Linked DNA regions of Homo sapiens: all the other regions are linked to region 1. The links are contacts of gene promoters, found by promoter capture Hi-C in blood cells and fetal thymus (Javierre and others, 2016). All regions are on one chromosome and are shown on one strand. The core of a region is centred on a gene start or on the middle of the fragment in contact, and the rest is flanking DNA. Distances in the headings are between cores, read along the strand shown. Region 1 holds the start of NR2F1-AS1 (NR2F1 regulatory antisense RNA 1). Region 2 overlaps MCTP1 (multiple C2 and transmembrane domain containing 1). Region 3 overlaps MCTP1 (multiple C2 and transmembrane domain containing 1). Region 4 overlaps MCTP1 (multiple C2 and transmembrane domain containing 1). Region 5 overlaps MCTP1 (multiple C2 and transmembrane domain containing 1). Region 6 overlaps MCTP1 (multiple C2 and transmembrane domain containing 1). Region 7 overlaps MCTP1 (multiple C2 and transmembrane domain containing 1).

Evidence for each region. Contacts are between HindIII fragments. The CHiCAGO score rates a contact against its expected background, and 5 or more counts as called.
Region 2: a fragment that was not itself captured here is called in contact with the fragment with the promoter of NR2F1-AS1 in region 1 in 1 of 17 cell types (fetal thymus); the score reaches 9.1 in fetal thymus.
Region 3: a contact is called between a fragment that was not itself captured here and the fragment with the promoter of NR2F1-AS1 in region 1, in 1 of 17 cell types (fetal thymus). The highest score is 8.3, in fetal thymus.
Region 4: a contact is called between a fragment that was not itself captured here and the fragment with the promoter of NR2F1-AS1 in region 1, in 1 of 17 cell types (fetal thymus). The highest score is 5.8, in fetal thymus.
Region 5: a contact is called between a fragment that was not itself captured here and the fragment with the promoter of NR2F1-AS1 in region 1, in 1 of 17 cell types (fetal thymus). The highest score is 10.8, in fetal thymus.
Region 6: a fragment that was not itself captured here is called in contact with the fragment with the promoter of NR2F1-AS1 in region 1 in 2 of 17 cell types (fetal thymus and total CD8 T cells); the score reaches 9.4 in fetal thymus.
Region 7: a fragment that was not itself captured here is called in contact with the fragment with the promoter of NR2F1-AS1 in region 1 in 1 of 17 cell types (fetal thymus); the score reaches 5.6 in fetal thymus.

Annotation. Positions count from the first base shown.
Region 1 is chr5:93,579,357-93,583,196 of GRCh38, reverse strand. NR2F1-AS1 (NR2F1 regulatory antisense RNA 1) reads left to right here and starts at 1,978. Exons shown (of 8, transcript NR_186187.1): 1 at 1,978-2,055. RefSeq lists a silencer at 1,533-1,582 and an enhancer at 1,703-1,802. The HindIII fragment of the contact is 7,751 bases long and covers 1-3,840 here.
Region 2 is chr5:94,890,682-94,894,841 of GRCh38, reverse strand. MCTP1 (multiple C2 and transmembrane domain containing 1) reads left to right here. Exons shown (of 23, transcript NM_024717.7): 11 at 7-193. Among named protein-coding and RNA genes, the nearest start is that of MCTP1-AS1, 86 kb to the left of the region's middle. The HindIII fragment of the contact is 2,825 bases long and covers 989-3,813 here.
Region 3 is chr5:94,769,871-94,774,034 of GRCh38, reverse strand. All of the region lies in intron 19 of MCTP1 (multiple C2 and transmembrane domain containing 1), which reads left to right. Among named protein-coding and RNA genes, the nearest start is that of SLF1, 150 kb to the right of the region's middle. The HindIII fragment of the contact is 481 bases long and covers 2,480-2,960 here.
Region 4 is chr5:94,860,463-94,864,132 of GRCh38, reverse strand. All of the region lies in intron 17 of MCTP1 (multiple C2 and transmembrane domain containing 1), which reads left to right. Among named protein-coding and RNA genes, the nearest start is that of MCTP1-AS1, 120 kb to the left of the region's middle. The HindIII fragment of the contact is 1,199 bases long and covers 1,040-2,238 here.
Region 5 is chr5:94,840,124-94,844,317 of GRCh38, reverse strand. All of the region lies in intron 17 of MCTP1 (multiple C2 and transmembrane domain containing 1), which reads left to right. Among named protein-coding and RNA genes, the nearest start is that of MCTP1-AS1, 140 kb to the left of the region's middle. The HindIII fragment of the contact is 753 bases long and covers 1,260-2,012 here.
Region 6 is chr5:94,790,601-94,794,524 of GRCh38, reverse strand. All of the region lies in intron 18 of MCTP1 (multiple C2 and transmembrane domain containing 1), which reads left to right. Among named protein-coding and RNA genes, the nearest start is that of SLF1, 170 kb to the right of the region's middle. RefSeq lists enhancers at 595-814, 86-1,285. The HindIII fragment of the contact is 2,731 bases long and covers 1,234-3,924 here.
Region 7 is chr5:94,812,020-94,815,927 of GRCh38, reverse strand. All of the region lies in intron 17 of MCTP1 (multiple C2 and transmembrane domain containing 1), which reads left to right. Among named protein-coding and RNA genes, the nearest start is that of MCTP1-AS1, 160 kb to the left of the region's middle. The HindIII fragment of the contact is 2,981 bases long and covers 634-3,614 here.

The DNA.
Region 1 (3,840 bases), core at 729-3,228:
GTATATAGTGAACTTTGACACTACTATTGAAACTGACACGTTTCTATGGAGATCGCTGCCTTATATGGAGCTCGTGTCAAGGAGCCAAGAGAAGGGCTGCTGGCAACTGATAATCAAAGGCGACTGACTGGTCAGAGCCCTGAATCGGGGGGAGAGAAAATGGGAGGCTAAGGTTAGCCAAGCCTCCTGCACGCCATTGGTTGGAGAGCCCCTCCCCCCTCCTCTTTTGCTTTCTTTCTCCCCCCCCCGCTTAGCTACCTACAGACTGGGATGGTGTGGGGAGGAGGAGAGAAAGTGAGGGAGGGGGGTGTGTTTCTGACAAGCGCAATTTACATTGAGATCGCCCTGCGCTGCTATTTACTCTGAGACCTGATTAGTATGGGTCGTCTATGGTCACACACACACACACATACACACACACACACTTACGCTCACACCCCAGAGGGGGAAGGGATGACGAGGGGGAGAACGCCTAGCGATGGGCAAAAGGAGAATTAGAGGGAAATTATTTTGATTTCTTCTGAAAAGTTTTTAAAATTAGATTTTATGAGCGTGAAGAGAGTGTCATTGAAAATGTTTGGAAAAATTTTTAATGGGAATGAAACCCCCACCATTTTAATGATTTGTGAAATATACTGGATTTGGATTGTTTTCTTCTCTCACATATAAGCACAATCCAAGTCTGGATTCTGCTCATTTTATATCCTTTTTAGAAACAAGTAGAAACAGGGTAGGATCTCCCTATTTTTTAATCCAAAGTATACCTTGGTTTAAAAGGTTTAATGATGACAAAGCACACTCCTGGAATTTGCAGCTATTGCCACAAATTCGATCGGAATCAAGGGTTCCTATTTATCCCAAAGATGATTTTAAAAATAAACTTTCCAATCAATCCAATTTTTCCTTCTTCTTTTTTTTTTTTTTTATCACCTGGCTGTTCCAAACTCCAACAATGCTTCAATCATTATTAATAAAACAGTAGTAAGTCCCCATATTGTTGCAGGGTGGGGGGAGATTAGTGTGGCCAAGTCAGTCCCGGGAAAAGAGCAAACAAACGAGAAGATGGAGAGGGGGGGAGGCGGAGAGGGAGAGAGAAAAGGGGGAGGAGGAGAGAGAGAGACAGAGAGAGAGGAGAGGAAAGGAAAGAGAGGAGAGAGGAGAGCGCGCGAGATATTGAGAGAGAGAGAGAGAGAAGAGAGGAGAGGGGAGAGAGAGAGAGAGGAGAGAGAGAGAGACCCAGAGAGAGAGGAGAGAGAGAGAGACCCAGAGAGAGAGAGAGAGAGAGAGACCCAGAGAGAGAGAGAGAGACCGAGAGAGAGAGGAGAGAGGAGAGAGAGAGAGAGGAGAGAGAGAGAGAGAGGAGAGAGAGAGAGAGAGAGACGAGAGGGAGAGGGAGAGGGAGAGGGAGAGGGAGAGGGAGAGGGAGAGGGAGAGAGGAGAGGGAGAGGGAGAGGGAGAGGGGGAGAGAGAGAGAGAGAGAGAGAGAGAGAGAGAGAGAGAGAGAGAGAGAGAGAGAGAGAGAGAGAGACCGAGACCCCGATTCCTGAATCCTGAAGGTGATTGGTCGCGGGAGGAGGGGCAGGCGGGAGGAGCGGGTCCCGCGGCGGGGCTTGCAGGAATCGCTGGCTCCGGCTGCCACCTAGCGGACGGGAGCCGCTCCCGGGCGGCACACAGCCGAGTCCCTCCTCCCCTCCCCGCAGGCAGCCTGTGCCTTTTCTCCAAACGAAGACAGCACTTTGAAAATTCTTTCAATGGATTTTTTTTTCCTTGAAAGATCGTACTGGGGGAAAATGATACTTCTATTAGTTACATATTCTCCAATCGCATACTCGCACCCCCCTCGTTTTGAGATCGCTCCCCTAGGCAGGCTCAGGCGGGCGCGGAGCCGCGCGGAGTGACAAAGCCGCCGCTGCCGCCGCCGGGGGTGGGAGCCGCGCTCGCCCGCCCGCCCCTCGACTCGCGAGGGCGTAAAAGTTTGTCTCAGCTCGAGCATTCCTAGCGCCAACACGCCCTCAGGTAAAGGTGGAAGTAAATGGCCACGCTGTATTGACAGAGGTAGGGTTTGTTTTTTAATACTCGTTCTCACTTTAAGTCTCACCAGGGAGGGGTTTGGGAAGCACTGCGTGTTTGGGGGACGTTTTGCGCTTCCTGGTCTCTCCAGCCTACAAGTCGGGAGTCGGCGACCGCTTAGTGACGAGCGATGATTTTAAAGAGCAGAATAAAAGGTTTTCCCGTGCCTGCCCCACAGCCCCTCCAGCTCGAATAATGGAGAACTGTCAATGCACTCCGCGAGCGGTGGCCCATTGTACGCAGCTGATGGCGAGGAGGCGACTGGGGGTAGCAGGGGCTCCTTGCCCTCGTCCCTATGCCCAAATAAACGCGCAAACGCGCTCCCGTCTTCTGGTCAGTTAAAAGGTGAAACGAACACGATTAAAATAGACCAAAAGAAAAGAAAGAAAAGAAAACCTTTCTATGTACAGATTCTAAATCGTACTCCCCATACAGTCAGAGGCAGGGAGTCGAGGGCAGAGGCAGCAGGCGGAGAGAGGGAGATAGGGCGAGGGAAGGAGAACGCGGAGAGAGACGAAGGGAGTGGGAGACCAGCGACAGCGAGCGCCAGGGCACCGCAGGCACACTGGATGCCCAGTCCGCCGGCCCAGCCGCCCTCGGACCCTGGACCGTGCGTCGTGGGCACCAGAAACGAGACTCGGCCAAATCCTGCCTCACCAGGCAAGTAACATAATGGTTGTCGTTTCTCTTGAACTTGGGGTTGGTAACGGGCAGGGCCGGGAGGCAGTCTTGGCTCGCACGGCCTCCGCAGGCCGAGAGCAGAGTCTAGGCAGCCAGGGCGGGACGAGGAGAACTTTCTTCGGGGCCTGCTCGGGAGTTGCCCTCGCTCGGCCTCTGTCTCGCCGTAGCGCTAAGGCGAGGATCGCGGCCGCCGCGCCTCCTTGGAGGGGAGGATCGTGCCAGGCGAGCAGCAATCCACATTCAAAACAGGCTGCTCCCACCCCCACCCGCTATTCCCTCTCTCTCCTAGGCGGGAAACGGATGCCCGGGCGGAGGACGGGGACCCGCACGTTTAACACCGGCCCGGCTGTTCCTGCTGGTGCCGAGCGCGACCCGCGGTGGAGCCGGCTGCAGAGTCCGGCCCGGCTGGCCCTTGTGCCCGCGCCTTGCCTGGTTACGGCCTGAACCTGGCGAGCTTGGCTGCAGCCGCCCACCTGCGGACGCCGTTTGTAACGCCATCCCCTAATGTAACGCGATCGATGGCTGCCTGTCTGATGTGGGCGATAGTGTCAGCGGATTAAAAGGGACATCGAGCCGCTCTCCCGAGCAGACAACCTGCGGCGGCGGCGAGAGAGCACCGGGATTCGCAGCCTAGCAGCCGAGCCAGACTCCCTGCGCCGCTGCCAGCCGGCTGGGGGCGGGGAGGGGGTCGCCTCCCAGGGGTGGGGACAGAGGGGGTGTGTTGAAAGGAAGAGGCTCAATTAAAACCAACAAGAGCGCTTTCCTCCGTGCGGGGCAGGGGCGTGCGTTTGCGTCAGAGGGCGCGCGGGGGGCGGGGGCAGCCGATGCTGGGGACTGCACCCGGGGGCTGGGGGGTCTCGGAAGCGAGGAGGCCTTGCCTAGCTGGGCTGGCCCGGGGTCAGGCCCTGTAGGTGAGGGCCAAGGCGAGACGGGATGACAGCTGAGCCTGCCCGGGAGCAGAGGCGCCCACCCATCCTTACTGTGGGCTCTCCGTGCCCCCACAGAGCTTTCAAACTTGAAAGAGGCCCCTGGGACCCGGCGTGACCCTAGCGGTGGGGAGAAGTTGGGCCCGCGAGGCCTCAGGCGAAG
Region 2 (4,160 bases), core at 1,152-3,651, 1.3 Mb before region 1:
CTCTAGGTGCCAGGTCGACCTGTCAGCCCTCAGTAGGGAACAGACGCACAAGCTGGAGTTGCAGCTGGAAGAGGGTGAGGGACACCTGGTGCTGCTGGTCACTCTGACAGCATCAGCCACAGTCAGCATCTCTGACCTGTCTGTCAACTCCCTGGAGGACCAGAAGGAACGAGAGGAGATATTAAAGAGATATGTACGTATGTAACCCTCCTCCTTCCAGAGACACATGTGACTAGATCAGGTTGTAAACAATTTACCTGGAGGGACAGAAGTACTTCTGAGAAGTTGTCTGGTGGAAGAATTGGCACAAGTAAAAAGCTGAGTGAAAACAAATGCCACACAGACCTTTGCCGAAGTATTTGCATTACCCACCCATGTCTAGAGACTTGATCTTCTCTAGATTCTCTTCCAGAGCAAATTCTGGATTCTGAGATTCTACTCAGTGATTTTATCATGCAGGGATGCTACCCATATAGGAAGGCCAGGTTTATACAATGTGACTTTAAAATTAATTTATTGATTCTTTGTAGCTGCAATTAAAATGTCTTTGTCTTTCCAAGTTTGCGATGGAGTTAATGGTACTTACGTTAATTAGTACGCTGGTAACTAAAGAGTATCCACAGGAATGATTTTTATTTTCAGCTGCTCAGGAAAGCCTCACTTCATTCCTTTAATTTTTTTAATTGAATGTGAAATAGAATTAAAGGAAGTCTTCTGCTTTTTGATCGAATGTGGAACGATAGTATGGAATAGTGAATCACTAAAATGACTACCCTCTTCAAATTTTACCTAACTGAAATATTCACAACCAAATCTTACTATTTCCCAGCATCCTCCCGCTGGACATTTCCCACCATGTAGTTTTCTTGAATCAACAGAGAGGGGAGCTCTTACTCCACCATTCTCTCTCAATGAAGGTTTGAAAAAGTAAATGCCTTAGTACCCATGAAGCTGGGAAAAAAGCTTTTCCACTTAAAATGACAAAGCTTGTATTGTACAGTGCCGCCAGGTGTTTAGAAGGCTCCTCTAGACACTCAGCCATGAAACCAAGCTCTAACAAAGAACCACTTTTTTTTTAGACTTTAAAATATTCCTATTTGCTGACTGACATCCTTTCAATAACTGAATTTAATAAAGATGTACCTTATCAGTCTGTGCAGATAACATGAAGTGCTGGTACTAATGCTCTACAATATTCTTCAAACAGATTAGCAGGATGTGCGCTTCAGCAAATTTATTCTGGCTATCTCCACTGAATCAGCTGTCTGCTAATGCTTGTACAACTCATCCACCAATGGTGTTATCATAAACAGTTTAATAGAGGTGACTTAGCAAGGCTAAATAGTATATATTTTTAAACCACCTAAGAGCCTAAGATATTGTGTGACATCTTCTAATATATAATTGCAGTTATGAAGATTATTTTACACTGTGGTATCCACCAAAATATATTCTTCTGTTACCAGAAGTGAGCCTCATGAATTACAACAATTTTAATGGAATTAATCAGTATATTAATATAAAAATTCTTCTAGGCATTATACTATAGTTGATGGATTAATATTTTGATATTATCCCGTATATTAAGGGATACTGCTGCCTAAGTAATTAGAAGTAATCCACCTATTATTAATTTTTTTTCTTTTTGCTGGATGGCTGAATGGCAATTGGCCATTTCCATTCAGAATTTGAATATTTGTTTCCATGTCTTTTTTCAATAAAATGTAAAATATTATGCGGATGTTTGACTTAATTCTCAGATTGTATTCTGCTCAATATATTCAAAAATGAACTATGTTTAAATATACTTTTTTTCAGCCTTGAATTTCAGGCAGAGGCCTATACCTCCCTCTAGAGACATACCTGCTACGAAACCACTATATGCAACATAGCACATCTGTTATATTTACTCATATCCATAAAAGGACAAAGACCTATGGATTAGGATTTCAGTGTGTTTCCCTTTTATTATAAGGATCATGAAATGAATGAATGAATGCCATATCATTTCTGAAATATCATTTGTTTTGGAGAAACATATAATGGAGGTTGTTTGGAGAATTATTTCTATATTTTCCTGCAAGAACATGTGTATTTTTAAAAGTTGAGGTCAAATTTAGGAATTTGACATTGGTCACTGTCAGGGAAGCAAATAAATTGCCCCCACTCTGATATGAAACAGCCCTAAAAAAAGCCCTCCATTGCTGTTGTTTAGCTGTTCATTGCTAAGGATTGAAGCCCCACAAATTAAACAAACATCGCTCTGTGAGCCATTTTTTGATCACCACATTCTGAGAAGATGGCTAATTCCATTTTTCTTTTTTCCTCTTTTAGGGGGAGGAAATGAGGGAAGGTCAATAGGGGGCGGGTAGTAATGGGTAGTAGACCAAGAGCAATTGTATGACCTTTTCAGAACGGGTATGCTGAACCCTTGCTCCCCCTTGTCACAGTTTAAAAACCAGAGGAGCTAGTTTAGAGAAGAAGTTGTTAGCATTCCATTTTTATTATGACATTTCACAGTCATCTGATTTAATGTCCCTTGACCGGATTGTCCACCGTGAGACGATGGGCTTGAAATGTTATTTAGAGCATTGATAAAAGGTGAGCGGTTCTAAGATGACAGCGAGTCATAAGGCTGGTGGTGTGACATTAATTTTCTCCATAACAGAGATGGAATAAGACGTCACGGTGACAAGCTGTCAATCAGCTCTGGCCCCTCAGAGCATCTCGATGCCATAGGATGGGGTATTGCCTCTCCCGTAATAGAGCTGAACTGAGATGCTCTCCCTGACAGCTGCTGCAGCCATAGAGAAAATATATTATACAGCCTTTCATTAAAAAAATAAAGAGGACTCCTCTCCAGAGCATTTCAATCTTTTCCCATCTATTGAGGGCTGAAAGGATTCACAGCAAATCATAGATTCCTCTGCTATGGAAATTTCTGGCTTCAGAAGCCATCCGGGTTTTTAGGCCTTCTAAAATAACCGTAAATAGCAAGGCAGGAATACCTCTTGATGAATACCTCTTGATGAAGTTATGTTTTTAAACCAATATATTTATTTATTTATTTATTTATTTATTTATTTATTTATTTTTACTTCTTATTATAATCGATGTGTCACTGGCCTAAACCGTTGAAATTTGCAATAAATTATGGAGTGTCAGCTGACTTGGGGAAATGAAACCTTCAAACAATAATTACCACTCCAAATGGGAAGCAGAGGATCAGAGCCGAAGCACCTGAAGACAATATGTCTGTGGAATGAGGCTACCAATGTGAAAGGATTCTCAGACATAAGGACTGATTATATTCGTCTTAGTCAAAATAGAACTTGATTTAAATTGCCTCTGAAAATTAAAGCACGGAAACCTTTTTTTGATAAAACTATTCCCCATCATTAGGGTCGAAGACTTACCTGATTTACAACATTGTGTAAGCTCTGAGATAAGAAACTTTCCAAACTTGCTGTTACTGTAGGAACACAACGTGCCCACAAACCTCTGAATTATATTCTGTTGTCTAACGCCCCCACAGTGAAACCCTTCATTTACAGGAATTTAAATGGAGAGAGAAGTGCATTTTTACTGAACCTTGTCACCTGGGTATTTTAAATAGATTTTTGGTGATAAACAACTGTTTAAAAACAATAAAAGATTAACAGTTAATCCTCATGCTAAACACTCTTATAAAAAGTTAGGCTATGAGATTACTCATGTATCCGCATTTCCTCCTCTCAATATACGAAGGTCATAGTTTCAGTGTAAACAATTACTGGTCATACGGGACTGATAAAGTTCATATTGCAGTAAGCTTTTGCTTGTCAGTATTCTCACATTATTAATATGATGATGGGAATGCTTTTTACTCTAGTAACATTTTAATAACTTTATAATGCAAAAGTATGTTACGTTCTCTGGTTATGAAACATTTTATAAATTATGAAAAAGAAGTACCTTTGATTTACAGAGTAGAAGTGCTGATCGTGTCATAAGAAAAATGCTATGAAGTGTAAATAAACAAATGCATATTAGCATTCTGTTGGTTCATTTTACTCTCAAAGTATTTGTGCCCATTAATTAGACTTCTGAATTATTGTATTGGTTTCCCTCTTTTAATTCCTTCAAGTGCTACACTTATAAAACACCACCATTATTAATTT
Region 3 (4,164 bases), core at 1,471-3,970, 1.2 Mb before region 1:
GGGTTTCACCATTTTAGCCGGGATGGTCTCGATCTCCTGACCTCGTGATCCGCCCGCCTCGGCCTCCCAAAGTGCTGGGATTACAGGCGTGAGCCACCGCGCCCGGCCTATTTCATCTAATATGATTTGGCCGTGTCCGCACACAATAATATCTTGAATTGTAGCTCCCATATTTCCCATGTGTTGTGGGAGGGACCCGGTGGAAGGTAACTGAATCATGGAGTGGATCTTTCCTGTGCTGTTCTCATGATAGTGAATAAGTCTCATGAGATCTGATAGTTTTATAAAGGGGAGTTCCCCTGCACACACTCACTCTTGCCTGCCACCATGTAAGATGTGACTTTATTCCTCCTTGCCTTCCACCATGATTGTGAGTCCTCCCCAGCCATGTGGAATTGTGAGTCAATTCAACCTTTTTCCTTTATAAATTACCCAGTCTTGGGTATGTCTTTATTAACAGCATGAGAACAGACTAATACACCATCATATTACAAAACCCACTCCCACACTCAAGGGGAGGGAGACTATCATGATATATCTATTGGAAGGCGCGAATCTTGGCAGCCATCTTAGAATTCTGCCTATCAAAACCGCATAGACCCACCCATGCTCTAGAGCAAAATTGGAACAGTCCTTGTGTTCCTTGGATATATTTATTGCAATACTATAACCCAACTATGCTACAATAAACAAATGAGGAAAACCAGCCTCCCAAATCATATTCTTTCAAAGATTATAGGAACATCTCATGCCAGGGGTGTAAACTGAGGTATATTTTACAGTCACAGTATAATATGTCCCATTTGCTTATTATCTATTCTGATCTGGGGTGAGGGATGTTTGGACAGGAAAGGGCTATTTCTTCTTGTTTTCTCCTACTTGGGAGAAGAGCAAATAATAAGATTAAAAATCAGGGAAGGATCCATTTCTCCTTTGTGAACCTATTGGTGCTTAAACACCCATTGAACTGATAGCCCACTCACTTTGAGTCCGCAGAAATACTATCTATTTCATCTAGAATCATAGCAACATTACAACTGGAGGGTACCCAAGAAATAATCTAGTTCAACCCACTTAATTTAAAGTGAGGAGACTGTGGTTCAGCCAAATTTAAGTGAATTGCTAAAGGATATAGACAAGTGGAAGAGCCAGACCTACCACTCAACTTTTCTGATTCCAAATTTGGCATCCTTACGCTTCCTTATGACTAGGTTTTCCGGGGGAAGGGGTATTGTCAAAGTACAGATGCAGGTTACCTCAGACATGATCTTTAAGTCTTTAGGGTAGTTCAATAAGGGAATATACCTTTCACCCCAGCTAGAGACTGTTTATTTCTAGGTTTCTACTACTTTTCACTATTTTCCTGCATATCCAATCCTTTCCTACAGTTTCAACTGAGGGAGTGTGTAGTAGGCAGAATAATATCAAAAATGCCCATGACTTAATCCCTGGAACCTATGGAGATGTCATGCTACATGACAAAGAGGAATTAAGGTAGCAGATAGGATGAAGGGTGCTAATCATCTGACCTTAAAATAGGGAGATTGTCCTGGTTTGTCTGATTGGGCCTAATGTGATCAGAAGTGGAGAGGCCATCAGAGCAGATGGCAGCTGGCAGCTGCATGTGAAGCCATGGCCAAGATCAAGCCTCAGGACCTTTATGGCAAGAAGGAAGAGCTTCTGAGACAGCTGGACTACCTAAAGGTAGAGCTCTCCCAGCTGCACATTGACAGTGTGACAGGTGGCACAGGGTCCACAATCCAACCCCCTTGTTCTCACTGTCATTAACCAGACTCAGAAAGAGAACCACAGGGCGGTCTACAAGGGCAAGAAGTACAAGCCCTTATATCTGCACCCCAAGAAAGCATGTACCTGAACCCCACAGGCTCATCAAGTATGAGAAGGACCTAAAGACCAAGAAATAACCAAGAATGAACAGCTGGTACCCACTGGGAAAGTACAGGGTGCACGGTATCAGTAAAACACAAACTAACTGGTAGGGGGTGGGGACTGCTGTTGCTGGCTTTGGAGATGGAGGAAGCGGGCCACAAGCCAAGAAAATGTCTCTAGAAGCTAGAAAGGGCAAGGAAAAGGATTCTCCCCTAGAGCCTCAAACAAGAAATGCAGCCCTGCCTACACCTTCATTTTTAGCCCAGTGAGACTCATTTCAGACTTCTGACCTATGGAATGGTAAGATAATACATTTGTGATTTCCAAGCACCTAGGTTTATAATAACATGTTACAGCAGCAATAGGAAACTAGTACAGGTAACTTCCAACTGCATTTCCTATACTTCTCCAAACAATACTGTATTTTAAAGCACTAGATCTGAGTTCCTCATTTGTCATTATTAACTTCATCCCACTGGTCTATATAAATACAGCTACACAATTTTTCATATAATATGAAAACTGAAAACAGTATCTAACAAAGCAAATATTTTTATCCAAATTTCTTAATTTTGATTTTGGAAAAGCTTGTTCAAAAATGAGAGTGGGTTATTGCCCATTTTTAATGCAGTCATATACTTTCTGGTTTAGAAGTCTATATTATTAATTGGCGAATAGAGAAGAAATTCATGGTTTTCTTCATTTTTCAGCTGAAGAATTTTACTTCTTCTCAACATTAATTCCATTCCTTAAAATGTTTTACCCTTCAAAGGACAGGGAGTTTTAGTCTTATTTAAGTCACAGACTCTGAGAATCTGAAGATTTACACTTTCTCCCCAGAAGAGGACACAAAACATGCACACACACATAATACACAAACTTTTTTATGTGCTTTTTTTTTGCCATGGAAATTGAATTATTTTACAGAGACTATAAAGTATCTTTATAAAGTCATCTTTGTTGCCCTCACCACTGTTCTCTTGAACTTAATGCCTGTTTCCTCAAACACCTGAGATAAATACAAATTTTACAAGTAAAAAATAATGTTTCATTCAATTCCAAAGCAAGCTTCTACAAGAAGGGTGGTGTTTGGCTTGATTGTGATATTATGGAGTAGTTTTGAGGCAGCAATGGGCTTGTTATCTTTGATATCCATTTGACTATGGCTTTTCAGTTTCATGTCAATAAGTGCTGGAAACACTGACTTGGCGAAAGAAAACAGTAACACAATGGGATCTGCTGTGGCTTTATTAGGTGATGATTAGGCACGGTGAGGAATCCTGGGGTTCTCCAAAATCCTTGTCGAATTCATATTGTGTTGCAATCATCTTTTGAAAACTCTCCATCATTAATGCTTCATCATATTTTAAAAAAATAATTACATACTCATGCCTCTATGTTAAAGTCATTGGAAACAGAACTAGCTTTCAAAGAGTTTTCTAGTGATTCCGGCTGGTGGTGGGTTTCTACCTGTCAAGCTTTGTTACACCTTGTTCCACTTTGCAGAAGCACCTCTCCAGTCTTGGAATGTTTAGGTAGATATCTGTCTCCAACATTCCCTCCAAAGTGGCAGTTGGGCTAAAATAATTTAAATGAAAAGTTTTACATAGCTAACTTGGTAAGAATGTCCATCAAGTAAAGCAAACTATGAATGGACTCTTTCCTTTTGGGTTATTCTGATAGTTGGATTTTCTTTGCCTCAAAAAAAGAACTTTCATTTAAGAGTCAATCAAATGTTTCAAGACAAGTCCTCTGGAAAGCTAGTTAACTTCTGTATTGCAGCAGTGAATTTCCTCTTCTATTCCCCTTTCTTGACAAAAACTCTCGAAATAGCAGTGTGTCAGCCCTGGCTCTCGGGAGGTTGACAACATTCATAGAAATAGACACGATTTTTTCAGGATCGCTGGCAGAGTCGTTGACACGGCTGACACCACTGCATGTTGAGATGAGAAGCATGTTTCTTCACCAAAGCAGCAGAACCAGATGTGTTGCCAAGCATCACAGATGCTCCATCTGAACCCAGGGTGCCAAGATTTTTATTCCGCCTGAAACTTTGTTTGGCAAAGAAATTCTTCACCATTTTAAAGACATTGACTCTGCAGATTCTAAAAGAAATTCACAAAGTAGGAATTCTTTGATTTTAAGAACTTGCCAACAGGAGTTGGCTATATAAATAGAGGTATCTACTTTCATTAAATTATATACAAAAAGGTAAATATTAAAGAAATGTCAGAATATCTGTAGAGTTGACATCATTTGATGTCAGTGAGGGCA
Region 4 (3,670 bases), core at 390-2,889, 1.3 Mb before region 1:
TTTTCCTTGGTATTCATGTGTTCCTTTTGTGTCAAAACCAAGAATTCCTTCTATGGCAATTCATCGAAGCCACTCTGGTTCATTATTTGTTTTTTTCTGGGTCCTTTTGAAATGCCTAGTTTTCCTTTGCTTCCAGATAATTTGTGCTCCACCTTTATTCAATCCCTATTTTAGTAAAGGATCATATTCGGGACAACAGTTACTCCCAGAAAGCTGGGCCATTATGCAGAAGAGAGAAAAAACAAAGATGTTGTATGCAAAGAATGACATGAGGCAGCTCTGTATAGCCAAATGATTAAAAAAAAAAAAGTGGAGGAAGCACAGCAAAGGAGGAGGAACTGGAGTTGCAGAGGCAATGGGAATGTAATAATGACCAAAGACAATAGGCTCCTACAGTACACTTATCATGTACTTCCTTCTCGTGCAGAAAGTCTGCTGCTATTAAACAACATATGGATTTTTAAAAAGTTATTACAAACCGTAAGGACATCTAAAGTGTCTTTCGTGATCAAGGATCAAAAAGGGAGAATTGCTTAAGAAGAAGTATCAATGTGAAAACAAAGGCATGTCTACATCACCTGTAGTTTAAGTCTTAATATTCACATTAAGGCACAATGAAATGTAGGATAATTACATTGAACATATTGAAGGTCACTTTAAGTTTATAACAGAAATATCTATTCTGAAAATTTAAGAGACAATAGTACTACCACAGCAATGAAATTACGCTTCAAGTCTATGGCAATTTTCAAATGATTTTTATAGAAGAGTTTTTGTTGTTATTGCTACAATTTTTTTTTAGCGCTAGCAGAAACGTTAGAAATGTTCTAGATGTAACTTTTGTTACTTTCTACACAACAGCAAAAGAGAAGTACTCCTGAAAACCAGAGAAACAAGTACAAAGCCAAAATGATCTACAATTGGTGGTCTTACTGTCATATTCATGAATTTCCCTAAAATTTTGTAAATATAAACTCCTAAGCCTTTTTGCCCATCTTTCTTCATGTATGTTTCCTCTGACATACACACCTACTAAGCTTACTAAACAATACTTCCAATTTAATCTATACAGATTTAGAAGCTACGTTAAACATTTTCTCACAAATGTGCAAGTAAGGGAAGAAGAAAACCTATATAAAATTTCACTGATTTAAAAGATATATATTTTTAAGGTTGCCCTAACTTCCTTTTGCAGAGTCAAGAAGTATTGACACTTAGAAGTTTCTCGTACCACAATTTTCTTTTCAGTAAATAGATTGTGCACCCAATTCATCTGGACATGCTAGTACATCAAATTGCTACTCAAAATATACATTTTCGCCCAATTTATCTCAACTCCGGAGAAGAAATTTTTTTCAAACATTGTCCAAAATTACATGAAAAATTGTAAATTAGGTTTTCCTAAGCATTGCCTTTCATAGTGCATTACATATAAATTCCTGCAATTATATAAAAGGCCCCCAAAGAGTATAAGGTACAAATGAGCTGGGTTTCAGGTTTGGTCACTATTGGCTAAAATCAACCCTGAATCTTAGGAAATATAGCAAGCCAGATAATAACAGAACCAAATATTTTCTGTAATCTTTCCTGAGGAGTGAGGCTCTAGTTCAGTTTGTGGGCCTATTTAATTGTGAAGTTATTTTTGTTTTGTTTTTGTATCTGCTAAGTCCACAGTGCAACACTTGGCTCAAATCAGTGCTTCATTCTCTTTAAATGATGCCAATGCCCTTTTTTGTTTATTTTAATAGATGTCAGCAAAAGGGCTTTCTGCTCTTTGGAGGGAGATAATCACATAAGCCACAGGGTCTGCTACTCTCTGAAAGGCGTATTTCTCCTAGATTTTATTTCATATTTACAAGAAGAAGAATTTAATCCCTGTAGAGGTCATTTTCTCATGAAATGAGGAAACTCATGTTTCCTATGATCGCTGCTCTTCCGCCTTTGTCCTGTAACGTGGAAAGTAGTAGAATGCTATAATTTTGAAAACTTTTCTTCTGTGAGTGATTTGAGGAAAAGAAAATGATTTCATTTTTTCTCAGGTATAGTGCTATTATGCTATGCTATAGTCAAAAAATTACAAATATCACCAGCATAATTATGATACCATATTGAATCTAAGAATTAGCTTTCTCATGTGCCTCAATGGTGCTATCAATAAAAGTTGGCGTGGTGGAGGACACCAAAGCCTCGGTGTGTTTTTCCTGGCTGTATGGATGCTGCCCCACTTCACTTCAAGCTTCCTCCTTGCATTACTTATCTGGTAGTTTCAGCCCCCCAGACCTTTATAAGACCCTTTAAAAATTGTTACATGGTCAATATTTTACAACTGAGTTGACTAAGGATCAAAAAATTATTAAATAATGAATCAGAGATGTCTCACTACCTGTTCCCAGATTCCTAAACCAATGTTCTTGTCTTCTGAAGGATTTTCTACTTTGCAATTGTGATTTCAATCGTAAAGGACAGACATGCTGAGCAAATTGGCAAGCCATATTCCATTGCAACATATTATGAAATAAAGTACTTTGCAAAGGAAAAAGTTTAAATAAATGATCTAATTATATAATTTATGTTAGTAAAATGTTGTAAAGTAGGAATAATAACTCTTCTGAAGGGTTGTAAATTATAACAGAGATTCAGTCATTAATATGCTTTAGTCATTAAGTTCACTCTCCATGTGTTTTCATTCCCCGTTCTATCAGGTAAAAATTAAGAAATAGGAGCAGAATGCTTTCTGTTGTCCAATTTTCCTGTGTTGACTAGATGTGCAGATATTCGTTACAATTATGAATGTGTTCGTTAATTTACCAAGCAAGAAGCTAACCTGAAATGTTAAGGAAGTTGTTCCCATTTTACTTTGCCCCTTCTCTTGCCATCATTTATCACATTTTAAATTGTAGTGAGAATTGGGATAGACACAGCAGGCTTTGCTACAGGTGGGTCTGTGAGTGATGACTCTGGTGCATCTTGTACTTTGCCGTGATGACAGAGGTCCAACACTCAGCAAGTGGTAACACTGAGAGATCAATAACAGAGTAGTCATCAGCTATTGGCTCAAATAGCTGAAATAACGAAGAGAAAATCAGAGAAAACTAAGAGGCAAGGAAAGACAGAAAGCATATCAAAGTGCAAATAGATATTTGGATTTGATAAATCAAAGTCAGCTCTCATTTTAAGGACAGGAATAAAATATTTTAGAGACAAAGTGTGGCCTTTATTTGATCTTAAATCAGTGTTTCTCTATATTTTTTTTTTCATAGTCACTGCCCTAAGGAGAAAAATTTCACTTGAGAGAAATTAAATACTAAGGGATAAGATTTTCTCAGGGGATATTGAGCTTTAGAGGGCCACAAACATCTAAGATTTCTGTTGCTTCCCCCCCGCCCCAGCTCAAGAACCAGTTTTTACCCCCTTGGATGTCACATTGACCCCACTGTGAATGCATGCTCCAAATGAGGGTTAATACAAGTTCAACTACATTTACTTTTATACTCTTGGTGGTAAAGTTTAGTTTGGATTTTCTGTAGTTCGCATATGATATGAATTATTCCCATACGGAACTTGTCTGGAGAAAGAGCATTTGTGATCTTTATGCAAAATTATTAACTATATTATAGTCCAATTAAAGGACAGGTGTTTGTTTGGCTTTATAGAGATCGAAGAATTTTAT
Region 5 (4,194 bases), core at 387-2,886, 1.3 Mb before region 1:
TTTTTTTTTTTTTTTTGAGACAGAGTCTCACTCTGTCGCCCAGGCTGGAGTGCAATGGCGCGATCTCGGCTCACTGCAACCTTTGCCTCTGCCTTCAAGTGATTCTCCTGCCTCAGCCTCCCAAGTAGCTGGGATTACAGGCATCCGCCACTACACCCTGCTAAGTTTTGTATTTTTAGTAGAGACAGGGTTTCACCATGTTAGTCAGGCTGGTCAAGAACTCCTGACCGCAGGTGATCCATCCGCCTCTGCCTCCCAAAGTGTTGAGATTACAGGCATGAGCCACCGCACCCGGCCAAGGGTGTCCTTTCACAGTCCTTTTTGGTACTTGGTGTCTATTCTACAGCCTGAGCAGCTGCTTCCAGCTAATCTACTGGAACATTTAGAGACATAGCAAAAACAAAACAAAAAACTACATTATTTTTGCAAAAACACAACCTTTCTCTCTACCTAATAAATCAGTCAATTCTCCTTATTCAGATGCACTGGTCCCAAATTGCAAATTCCCAGACCCCATGAACTCTTCTCTACTATTGTGTCCAGTTCAAAGCAATCTCTTACTTGCATTTATGTGACACTTCTGAACTTTTGTGTCTTTAGCTTTAGTATTGACTATTTTGTTAGTGCTCTTCTTTTCTACATAAACCACTCTAAAATTCTTATAAAGAGACACAACTAATGGCCTCCAAAACATTGTTAACAATTCATTGTTTTTTTGAAAGATGTTTAAAATAAAACCTCACTAATTAGAACCAACCTTGAGGGAAAGCCTATTATCTAACCCCAACCTAACTTCCTAACCTTGTGTCTTACGTACACTCCTTTCTTATCCCACCCATGTATTCCATCTTCTAGGCCAGAGTTAGCAGACAAATCGCCTACATCCCATCACCTCTGATGCCCTTTCTTGTGGCAGACATTGTAAACTGATCACAACATATGTGTTTATACACATACACACGATTGTAATCCTCAAAAAACCACTCTATGTACCCATTACCAGTTGTTCAGAGTTGATTCTCAAGCTGTACTTGTTTGCCATTCCCTAATTCTTTGTGAACGTGTCTGTCTTCCCTTCTGAGTTTGAGCCTTTAAAGGATGGAGAACAGGTTGCATTTGTTAATTCTACTCAGGATGTGGTAGAGGGCTTTGTATGTATAGCAAATTGTCAATGTCGATGAATTTTTGTTAAATTTTATCTTGTAGGCCAGTCTAGACTGATAAAAAATATATTTCATAGAATTTTTTATATATAAGCTTTATCTTTCATCCAATGGAAAGCATAATATAGCCAAGTGGAATCACTTGGAATCAAGAATGTTTTCTCATTGTTTTTAATATTAATGGTATCATTAAAATAAGAGAGTTTTCACATCCAAAGCAAATACTCTGTCCCCTGAAATCCTTTTTATGTTATTATAATTTTCTTTAGCAAACCCTTTTATCAGGGCAAAAAATCAATTGCAGCTTCTCTAAATTTTCACAAAGCCTGATTAATAAAGTTTTCACTAATGGTCTTTTCTATATTATTTCTATCATGTTTCAGTAATAAAAAGCAGGTTGCTAAAACCACTTTATATACTCAGTTGTGATATCCTACTGTCATGATTAGTAGATATATTGTTTATTCATAAGATAGCATGCATCACATTCACTTTGAGGAAGAACATTCTAAAATAGTTGGATTTGCTCTATCTTTATCATATTGCAAAGATAAGAGGAAGGAATTGCTTGTGGCCCTTTGTTCCTTGATGATTTTTTCCCCAAACATATTACTAATTAATAACTTTGCTGAAAATCTAAATAAATCAGAAAGATGAAATAAAATGAGACATAGACAAGAAAAGATTGTTGTTGTTTTTTAGATGACACAATCCATATGTTAGCATTTAAAGAAGAGCTTGTTTGCTTATGAAGTGAAACATGCCCTTTTTCATAGTCACAATCTATAGACCCAGTATGTGTGTGTGTAATTTTGATGTGGAAGGAAACATAAAATCAAGTAAGAAGCTTTCTTTGCTGGAATACTAATAGTCTCTCAATAAGTTTCCCTAATGTCTACAGGGGGAAAAAAAGACCTTAGCACCTTTTAATTTTGCAGCTGTTTTTACACTTTTATTTCCTCTTCTTTCCTCTCACATTTACACAAAAACCTTCTCAAGTCTCTTTTAAGCACTGCAGCAACTAAATCAATCCTAAGTGGCAACCACTTCTAACAGCGTTGCGTATGACTGTGTGTTAATTAGCTCCAGTAGATTATCCCCTGGTGTGTGGTGGGGTGTTGGTGGGAACTTTTCAATGTGCAGAGAGTGCTAAGGGTTTCATGTTTATTTTCATGTACTGAGGCAAATTCTCAGGATGTCTTCAAATTATCTCCTTGGGGGTGTTTTTCCTGAGCTAATCCTGACAGAATCTTTCTATCAGATATGCCCATCATCAAGAACAGTAGAACGGTGCACATACAGGAACCTCTGTGCTCGGGGCTGTATGCAAATTTAATGCCCAGCTCATTTCTGTTTCTCTTACATGGATGACAGACATTTTAACAATGTGTTCCACATTCCCCTCTGGGAATCTAGTTGGATTCCTGAATGTATATGAGTGCATATATACATCCATTCAGAATGTGTTTTTGAATACAATGTGGGGAACATATATGCATAAAAATGTATCTATATATGTATATATAAGCACATTTATTATGAGTAATGTGGATATTGGGATGCATATGTGAAGATGGGAGTCAAGCTGCTGTTGATCAGAGATGTGTCTACATCCCAGGGAGACTAATCAGCTGCTGAAAAATGGATAGGGTAGAAGAACTGATAAACAAATCTATTCTGAATATAATTCCACAGTGTTTGGGGTGGGAGTTGTGCCACTATGAAATGGTAAGTAGCAACAGCATAGAAAAATCAGCTTTGTTTTTCAGCTGGCTTTAATGGAAAAAATTATATCCTAAGAACTTTTCCAATCGAAATGCCAATCTTCATGATTGACCATAAATTTGTGACTGAAGTTACCTTTGCTATCCTTGTATCCGAGATTGTCAACATAAGTACTTTCTTGGCAACACCATTGTTTTATTTTCAGTGGCACCTTTCTGTCCTGGGGATATGCCTTTCTATTCCTGTTTCCGTTCCCTGGGTGGACTGGGCTGGCAACCCTAGAAGTACAAGGGAAGGGCACACCTACTCGTCACCTTTAAGCCTCGGTCACATGCCAAGCAGCCAGCTCTATGCTTTTCTATCTCCTTTGGCACCCCAGTGTCAAAGATGCTGCCCACATTGAGTACTTACTCTGTGCCAAGTATTTAGCTGCTCTATATGAAATGGCCAAGTGGCCACTAAGGGTGGTATGTTCCATCAACAATTTCCCTTCCTCACCTTCCCCCCACCCCAAAATCCACCTCAAATAAACCTAGCTGCTCAGCAAAAACAGCTTGCTTAGTATCCAGATGCAGCTTCAAAACAAATCTCTTATATTCCAGATAGCAACACCACCTTTATAGAAATTAGGAGATATTGTTGTCTAGACTATATTGCAAATATTATATGATTTCATTCTTACAAGAGTACTTGTGTCTCATGGTAGAACTCCATTTTAGGAGTGAAAACTAAGGCCAGTGAGATTGAATCACTTGCCCAATAACACATAGGTGGTAAGCCCTGATAAATCCAGCTCTTTGATTACTAAGTGTGAGATCTTTTCCTCTCCCAACCCAAAACTAGACATAAAGAAAAAAAAATGGTGTTATATGAAAAGGGTGAGAACCTTGAAACATCTAGAGCAGCAGAGGAGAGTAAAAGTCCCAATCAAGCCATCCCAACAGCGGTTAAAATCTCTTCTCACATTCTGAACTCTTCTCTTGGAAGATCTAAACAAAGCCTTTCTCATACCCATCTTCCCAGGCCCCTACTATTGCAACTAAGGAATGAGAAAAGAGAGAAGGAGAAGCTGTTTGTCGTCTCTCTGTTCCTCTCTCTGCATATCTCAGTCTTCTCAGTTTTGTCCTGTTTCTTCTATGAATACAGTGTTGCATTCCTAAAGAAGGTCTTCTCTTTACCGTTTCTTCCATTGACTTACTTAGATGGCTCCAAGAATTCCCTTGAGAGTTGGGGGAAAGGAGGATTTTTTTTTTCCAGCTACACTGAGTCTAAGATGAGTGTCACTTTGAACCCAGCCCAGTTTTAG
Region 6 (3,924 bases), core at 1,350-3,849, 1.2 Mb before region 1:
CCTTTCCCAAAGGACTGCTTTCTTAGTGTCCAGGGCCTTGCATAGAATCCTGGGTGTCTCCAAATTCCTTCCTGTAAGGTAACCAGTAACCTTGCATGAATTGGTGCTGGTCATCTGTTCTATCCCAGGTGCCCCTGTTAATTTCAGAAGCATTCGTGACCAGGAGGGCTACCTTCCATTCACCAAGGTGAGCATGGGAAGAGTCCATCAAAGCTGACTTCTTCATATTCGTGAATAATTTTTTTGTGAATAAATTCAAAAATTTCTTTGACACAAAAAAATTCTTCAATGTTTTTTAAGTACACTTTAAAAGAACATTCATTTTTACTGTCATGATATTCCTCCCACACAACAATCTCAGTTATCTAATCAATGGTGGCATTAAAAGACTGAAGAGTGGGGCAGATCAATGAAATCATTCTCTGACTCATGATATGACTGTGACACAAATTGAGACAGAGTCTGCCTTGCTAAAATACTTTAGGAAATACTGAAGTGTTTAGTTAGCTCCTTCTCATGACAAAGCATTTGTTTCTTCATTTCCCTTTTAGAATAGTACTGAATATTGTCTCCCATTAGGTCTGTTCCAGTGAGAACCAGAGCACTTATCTCTACAAATAAAGCTCCTAAGAGCAGCACTCTGTGCCATAAGTGCTGTTGATTGAACAGTTTGGGATGGTCCACCAAAGAAACATCTGATTGACTTGAACTCCTATAAATCAAGCACATTTATTATTTTGTCAGCCAGTGTTCTCCATTCCAAAGAAGTCTGTGGTGGAATATGTGGAATACTGAATAAGTCAAGTATTCCTAACAGGATCTAAAGAGGCTGGCCAAAGCCAAGCTGACAGAGGAGAGGACGTCATATGCAAAGCACTCTGAACATACAGTTAGACTCTCTCTACTTCAGTAAGAGTTTTATCATTCACTGAAAGCAGCATAGACCACAAGTTTCCTGTGTTTGCATCTCAGTACCAAAAAAGACCACATATTCAGTGCTCTTAGCAGAAGCAACACTGAGTCATACAGCCTGTAAACACATCTAAAAATGGATGATCACTCTTTTCTTCTTCGTGCTTATTTCAACAGCAGTTTTCTCAGTTTTTTTCAAAAGGTCATCAGCTTGAAAAAATCTGAGGAGGACCATGAAAAGAACCAGACCTTTAGTTTTCCAACACGATCACTAGGATAAATAAGTAGAATCAACAGCCAATCAGATGTTGGTAGAAAGCTTATCCCTTGTGACCCCTCTCAAAGCTGTTCACCAACTGTTTAGCCTTGTTAGATAATCACTTGCTGTACATAGTGCATCCCAACATGTTAATAACCATCGTCATCAGGCTTTGGATTTGCACCAACAAGATTTCTACATTTTCTTCACTCATCCCAAGTCCCCCCACCACTGTCCCCTCCCTCTCAGTAGATGACCAGGCCTTCCACTTTGCAAATTTCCCTCAAATTCCAGCCCTGAGCCCTATGAATTACCCAAGTTAGGGTTGCCAGATTGAGCAAATGAAAACACAGATGCCCAATTCAATGGAAATTTCAGATAACAACAGGACATACTTACACTTATATGTTTTTATAATATTCTTAATTTGTCTGAAATTCCAGTTTAAGTGGATGTTCTATATTCATCTGGTAACTCTATCCCAGTTGTACCTTTATTCTTACCTCCAGACCTGTAGGAAGGTGACAGTTCTGAAATAAAGGTATTCCCCAACATCTTCAAGCATAGAAGACCCATAAGGAGCAGGCCCCACTTAAACCATAGTTTCAGCTTCATCCCTCCAATATTCCAACAGGATTGTTTATGTGTATGTTGTTGTTGTTGTTGTTTTGCTTTTGTTTGTTTTGGAGTATGCAGTGTTTATTGAGCAAAAGGTGGGAGTAGTGGGCTAAGGGTGAGGAAACAGAAATGAACCAGACCATGGCCATACTCTTTTGTTATCACTTTCTTCTGGACAGCAATTGCTCGCCACTTGGGAGAGCAGGAAACCAAGCCACTTGCAAAAGCTAGCACAGCACAGCTGGATGGGAAGCACAGCTGGCTCACAGGCCTGTGTTCCCTGCTTTAACTCCTATTCACCCAGTCCACAGGCTCAGGGAAGGCAACCCCTTTTGTCTTCATGACACAACTGGAAAAGAGGAAAAAGGAGTGATGCTTCTGCCTTTGGACAGATGGAGAAACTCAGGCCCAGAATAAGGCAGTAATATCCGCAAAGCCAGTACTCACAGAGCGTGTGTGGGAATGGCACAGCATGGGATAGATGTGGTGGCCTGGAGAAGGGCAGTGCAGGCAGGGTCTGGAACTTGGCAGAGGCCTGGAAGTCACGTGAGCACTGAGGACAGATGTGCAGCGTGGTGGAAGAGCTTGAAATCCTTGCCCAAGGTGCCGCACATGAAGAGTTTGAGGTCTGAGTGTGATGCATGGTGTCTATGCAGCTGCAGGGGGCTGGCAAAGACACAGGTGCACTGTGGGTGGCTGTAGCCCCTGCAAGGCTGTACTCTTATGGGGTGCATCATCCTGGGATGGTCTTCGGGGCTCCTCCACTGGCACAGCAGACTTGTAGGCAAGCCGGTTGGCGTCGATGAGGAAGTGGCTGTCCAGCCATGAGGGCTATGACCCACCTGAGAAAGGTGCTGGAAGAGGGGCCTTTCACCCTGGGAAAAGAAGACCTTCAAAGATAGTGGGTCTGGAGAGGAGGACCAGGGTGGGGTAGCCCCAGTGGTCACAGGAGTATCTGGAGCAGAGTATACTTGTAGTTTCCCAAATATTCTATATACTCTTTCTATGCCTTCTACTGTTTTCTTTAAAATATACTTACAAATGTAAATGTATATTTCTTATCACACATATTTTGTTTTTTATAAAAATTGAATCACCTTTAACGCATTTTAGCTCACCTACTTTTTTTATTCTGCAACATATCTGGAAATATCCTTCATATTCCTGGAAAACAGCCCACCACGAGTTTTAATTTCTATACAATTTTCACTATATGAGTGTGTGTGTGTGTGTGTATTTTAGAAACAGGGTCTCCCTCTGTCACCCAGGCTGGAGTGCAGTGGTGCCATCATAGCTCACTGCAGCCTCGAACTCCTAGACTCAATCAGTTTTCTCACCTCAGCCTCCTGCCTAGCTGGGACAACAGGTGCGAGCCACTGCACCAGTCTTCTTAATTAAACACTGTTTTTAGAAATGTTTCCTTCAATTTTTTTTTTTTGAAACAGAGTCTCACTCTGTCACCCAGGCTGGAGTGCAGTGGTGTGATCTCGGCTCACTGCAACTCCCACCTCCCAGGTTCAAGTGATTCTCCTGCCTCAGCCTTCTAGTAGCTGGGATTACAGGCACCTGCCACTGCACCCGGCTAATTTTTGTATTTTTTTCTTTTTTTTTTTTTTTTTTTTTGTAGTAGAGACGGGATTTCGCCGTATTGGCTAGGCTGGTCTGGAACTCCTGACCCCAAGTGATCTGCCTGCCTCGGCCTCCCAAAGTGCTGGGATTACAGGCGCGAGGCACCGCGCCTGGCCCGCTTGAAATATTTTGCCTTCTCAATACTATAAAGAAAATCCTAAAGAAATTTTTGGGTCCCTTTCTGGTAATATGCTTTGGAAAGTCCTTGAAGAATTTCTGGGTGAGAGTATATGCATTTTGAAGGTTTTTGGTAGTTAATATTAATTTGCCACCCATTAAGCCTTTAACATTTTATACAGCTGTGCCTGGGTAACCACTAATTATCATTATTATTTCTTCTGGAGCACCATCCCTGACACTCACCCCCTACTACCAGTCTGACCCTACCAACTCATACTCTTAAGAGGTTAAGTGAGCCCACACCTCTGAGTTCCCACGTCTGTCATAAATTTGTTTCATATAGTTGCTGCTTAGGCATCCATTTTAAGGCCCGACATGAGTTATTT
Region 7 (3,908 bases), core at 875-3,374, 1.2 Mb before region 1:
CCCAGAGCATTTCATGATAGATGGTATGACGTGTGTTTTGCTTTTAGGTCGCATATTGCCCTCTCTTTGACACCAGCTCCATTCCATTTACCATTGCTCTAATTGACAATGAGACCAAGACCCAGACGGTCTTGAGCCAGTGTTCTTTTCTAACTGGTATTTAAAAGCTGTACACTATTGTATGCCTCCTCAAGACTGATCTAAAGCTAGAAAAGAGGAAACACATTGCTGCCTCTTTATTACACTAGTAAACCCTGAATCCAGAGTTGCCACTGAGCGGATGTCTTTATTAGAGCGAGAAATGTGGTGAACACTTCTGGACAGGAGTGTGGTCAAACATATCTGAAAGGCAAAGACATAAATGAAAGAAGTGCAATGTTGCCATAACTGAACTAGTGAAAGGGGAGCTGGATTCGCCCAGTGTCATGCACTTAGAGAACAAAGCCACACCTGTCTCCCTGGGAGATAGAATAGCTCCAGAAAAGCTGACAGTAGAACAGGGAGGCAGTTTAGATTGCAGCAATTGATAGATAGAGAAATTGGCTGTAGAAAGAAGGGGAAATCTGCCAGGGCCCACCTGCTTTTCCATGCTTGATATTATATAACTTAGCTAACAAACACATGTATTAAGCTTTATCATGAAAAATATTAAGAAATGTTTTGTAGCAGTATAGGAAGATATGGGGTTATCCTAGAATTTTGGAAGTGCTGGCATAAAAACAGTTGGAAGTGGTTTTCAGGTGTATTTCACTTGTCCTGCTGTGTTCAGCAGTTTTCGTTTCTATTTTCTTGATGTAATATATTGAGAAAAACAAACCCAACCAACCTAAGGGAGGCACTGACTGTTGCTGACCGGAAAAATAAAACAAATCCCTCATAACATGTATTCCTGCTGTATTTCCCGTAGACGAATGTGGGGCTAAGGAGTTTTATTTCCTGATAGGTGGTACTATAGGTAACTTGGCGACAGACATCACTGAGGAATGCAAATGAAAACCTAAGACTCTAGGCCCAAATTAAAAGAGTTCCTCACCCAAGATTACAAAATAAGGAAACATTGTCATATTTATCCAGTAGTGCTTTCTTCAGGGCAGAGAAGATGACTTTGAATACACTATCCTCATTCTCCTGTGCCAAGGTTTGTTTTTGTTTTCTTTTAACTTTTTTTTTTCTTTCTGCATGTTGGGCTAAGCTGTCCTTTTCTATTTCTTTCCATGTCTTCTCTCACTGAGTTTTCCTTGGCATTTTTTTCATATTCTCAGCCATTTCTTATTTAGAAAGTAAGGAGTTCAAAAAATTTTAACTGATTATATTTTTCATAGGAATTTAGAACTATTATAGTTGCGTGATAGCCTCACCTTATGGTGGTAGCATTATATTGCCACTTTCCATCACCTGCCTCTAGGACCCTGCTTTTCCAGTTATAATTAGCAAAGATTGATGTTGATATTTGCTTTAGCTATTTTATAGTGGCTTTAGTGAAACTTCTCTGAACTCAAATGAGGACCAACTGTCCAAAGAATCATCATGTGGATAGTGTCATCGACTAGCATTTTAAAATATTTTGGAAGTGTTGGCAAGATACACCCAAGGTTCCTTACCATTAACTTTCTCAGCCTAGTTTCTCTCAGTTATTTGTATTGGAATTTACCCCCACAAAAGTTTAGCACTTTTTATTTATTTATTTGTGTATTGTGTATTTATTTTTAGCACTTTTTATTTTAAATGAAATATAAAGAACAGGTGAAATTTTGTTTTACTGAAATATAATTTATATGTCATAACATTCACCCATTTTGAGTACAGAATTCACTGGTTTTTAGTAAATTTCCAGAGTTGTACAACCATCACCTCAGAGGATCCTTCATGACTGATACAGTCCTCTCCATTCCCACCTCCAGCTCCTGGAAACCACTAATGTGTTTTCTGTCTCTAGGGATTTGCGTTTTTTGAACTTTTCATATAAATGGAATCATACACTATGTCCTTTACATCTGACTTCTTTCACTTAGTGTGGTGATTTTGAGTTCATGATGTAGAATGTGTCAGTAGTGTCTTCTTTTATTTTAATTTTTTGAGACAGGATCTTGCTCTGTTGCCCAGGCTGGAATGCAGTGATATAATTATGGCTCACTGCAGACTTGACCTCCAAACTCAAGTGACAGGTGTGCGCCACCCCTCCCAGCTAATTTTTAAAATTTTGTTGTAGAGACAAGGTCTCACTATGTTGCCCAGGCTGGTCTTAAACTCCTGGACTCAAGTGATCCACCATCCAAAGTACTGGGATTACAGGTATCTTCTTTTTATTACTGAATAGTATTCCTTGGATATAGCACATTTTGATTATCAATTTACTAGATGATAAACATTTGGATTGTTTCTATTTAGGGAATAACATGAATAATGCTGCAATGCACATCCGTGTATGTATCTTTATGTAGGCATATGTTTTCATTTTTCTTTGATAGGAGTAGAATTATTGGTTAATGTGGTAAATGTATGTTTACATTTTTAAGAAACTAACAATCTGTTTTCCAAAGTAGGCTTACCATTTTACATTCCTACCAATGACATACGAGGGTTCTGGTTTCTCTGTGTCTTCACCAACATTTAGTGCTTTCTGTCCTGATTACAGCCACTCTAGTGGGTGTGAAGTGGTATCCCATTGTGGTTTAATTTACGTTTCCCTAGTAACTAATGATTTTGAACATCTTTTCATGTGCTTATTTGACATTCAGATGTTTTATTTGGTGAAATGTCTACTTAAATCTTTTTCCCATTGTTTAAACGGGGTTTTTGTCTTCGTATTAAGTACTCTACATACTCTGAATACAAGTCCTTAATCAGATATATTATTTGCAATTATTTTCTCTCGATGTGTGGCTTATCTTTTCATTTTCTTAATGGTGTCTTTTGGAGCACAAATGTTTTTAACTTTAATGAGGCCAAATTTTTAAATATACATTATATATACACGCACGCACACACACAGACATTTATACAGAGAGAGAGAGAGAGAGAGAGAGAGAGAATGCTTTTGGTGTTGTGTCTGTGAATAAATACCTTGCTTACCCCAAGGCCACAAATATTTTCTCCTAGAGGTTTTATGGTTTTAGTTCTATGATCCATTTTGTATCACCTTTTTTTTTTTTTAAGAGGCAAGGTCTCACTGTGTTGCTCAGGCTGGAGTGCTATGGCTATTCACAGGCTCAATCACAGTGCACTGCAGTTTTGAACTCCTGGGCTAAGCGATCACCTACCTCAGCCTCCTAAGTAGCTAAGACTACAGGTGTTCACCTGAATTTTCTGTATATAGTAATTTTATTACTTTTAAAGATAGTTTCATTTTACGTTATTGTGCTCATTCCCACAAATACACCTGAATTTATCTTTGGAAAAGTTCAGAAGACATGTAGAAGGGTTTTTTTTTTGTTTTGTTTTAGTTTTAGTTTTTTGGGTTTTTTTTTTTTTTCGTATCCCTGACCTAATCACAAACAGCACCACCTTTTGGTTCATGTTTACACTTGCTTTTTACAATAGCCATCTACCAATAGCTCACATTTTTCCTTGAGAGGACATTAAATTTCAGAGAGATCTGAAACCTTCCTGAAGCTTGTGAATAATTTAAAAGATTGAGCAAAGTAGTCTTTAGAGTCAGTGTCCCAACAATGAATATTCAAGTAAATTGTGAACAAGAAACTGAGGATCATCATGTGAGAGTGTGACATCACATCTGAACCTACGATTAATGCCTGCTTAATATCCCCTTTTGTTTAAATAGAATGCAATATTCAATTATTCTGGAAAATTGATCACAGTAAATCATTGATTTTAAAAACTTCAGAAAATTTTCTTTAAAACAGTACTCAAAGAAGTATAAATGTTTCTTGAGAATTGTACATCAGTAC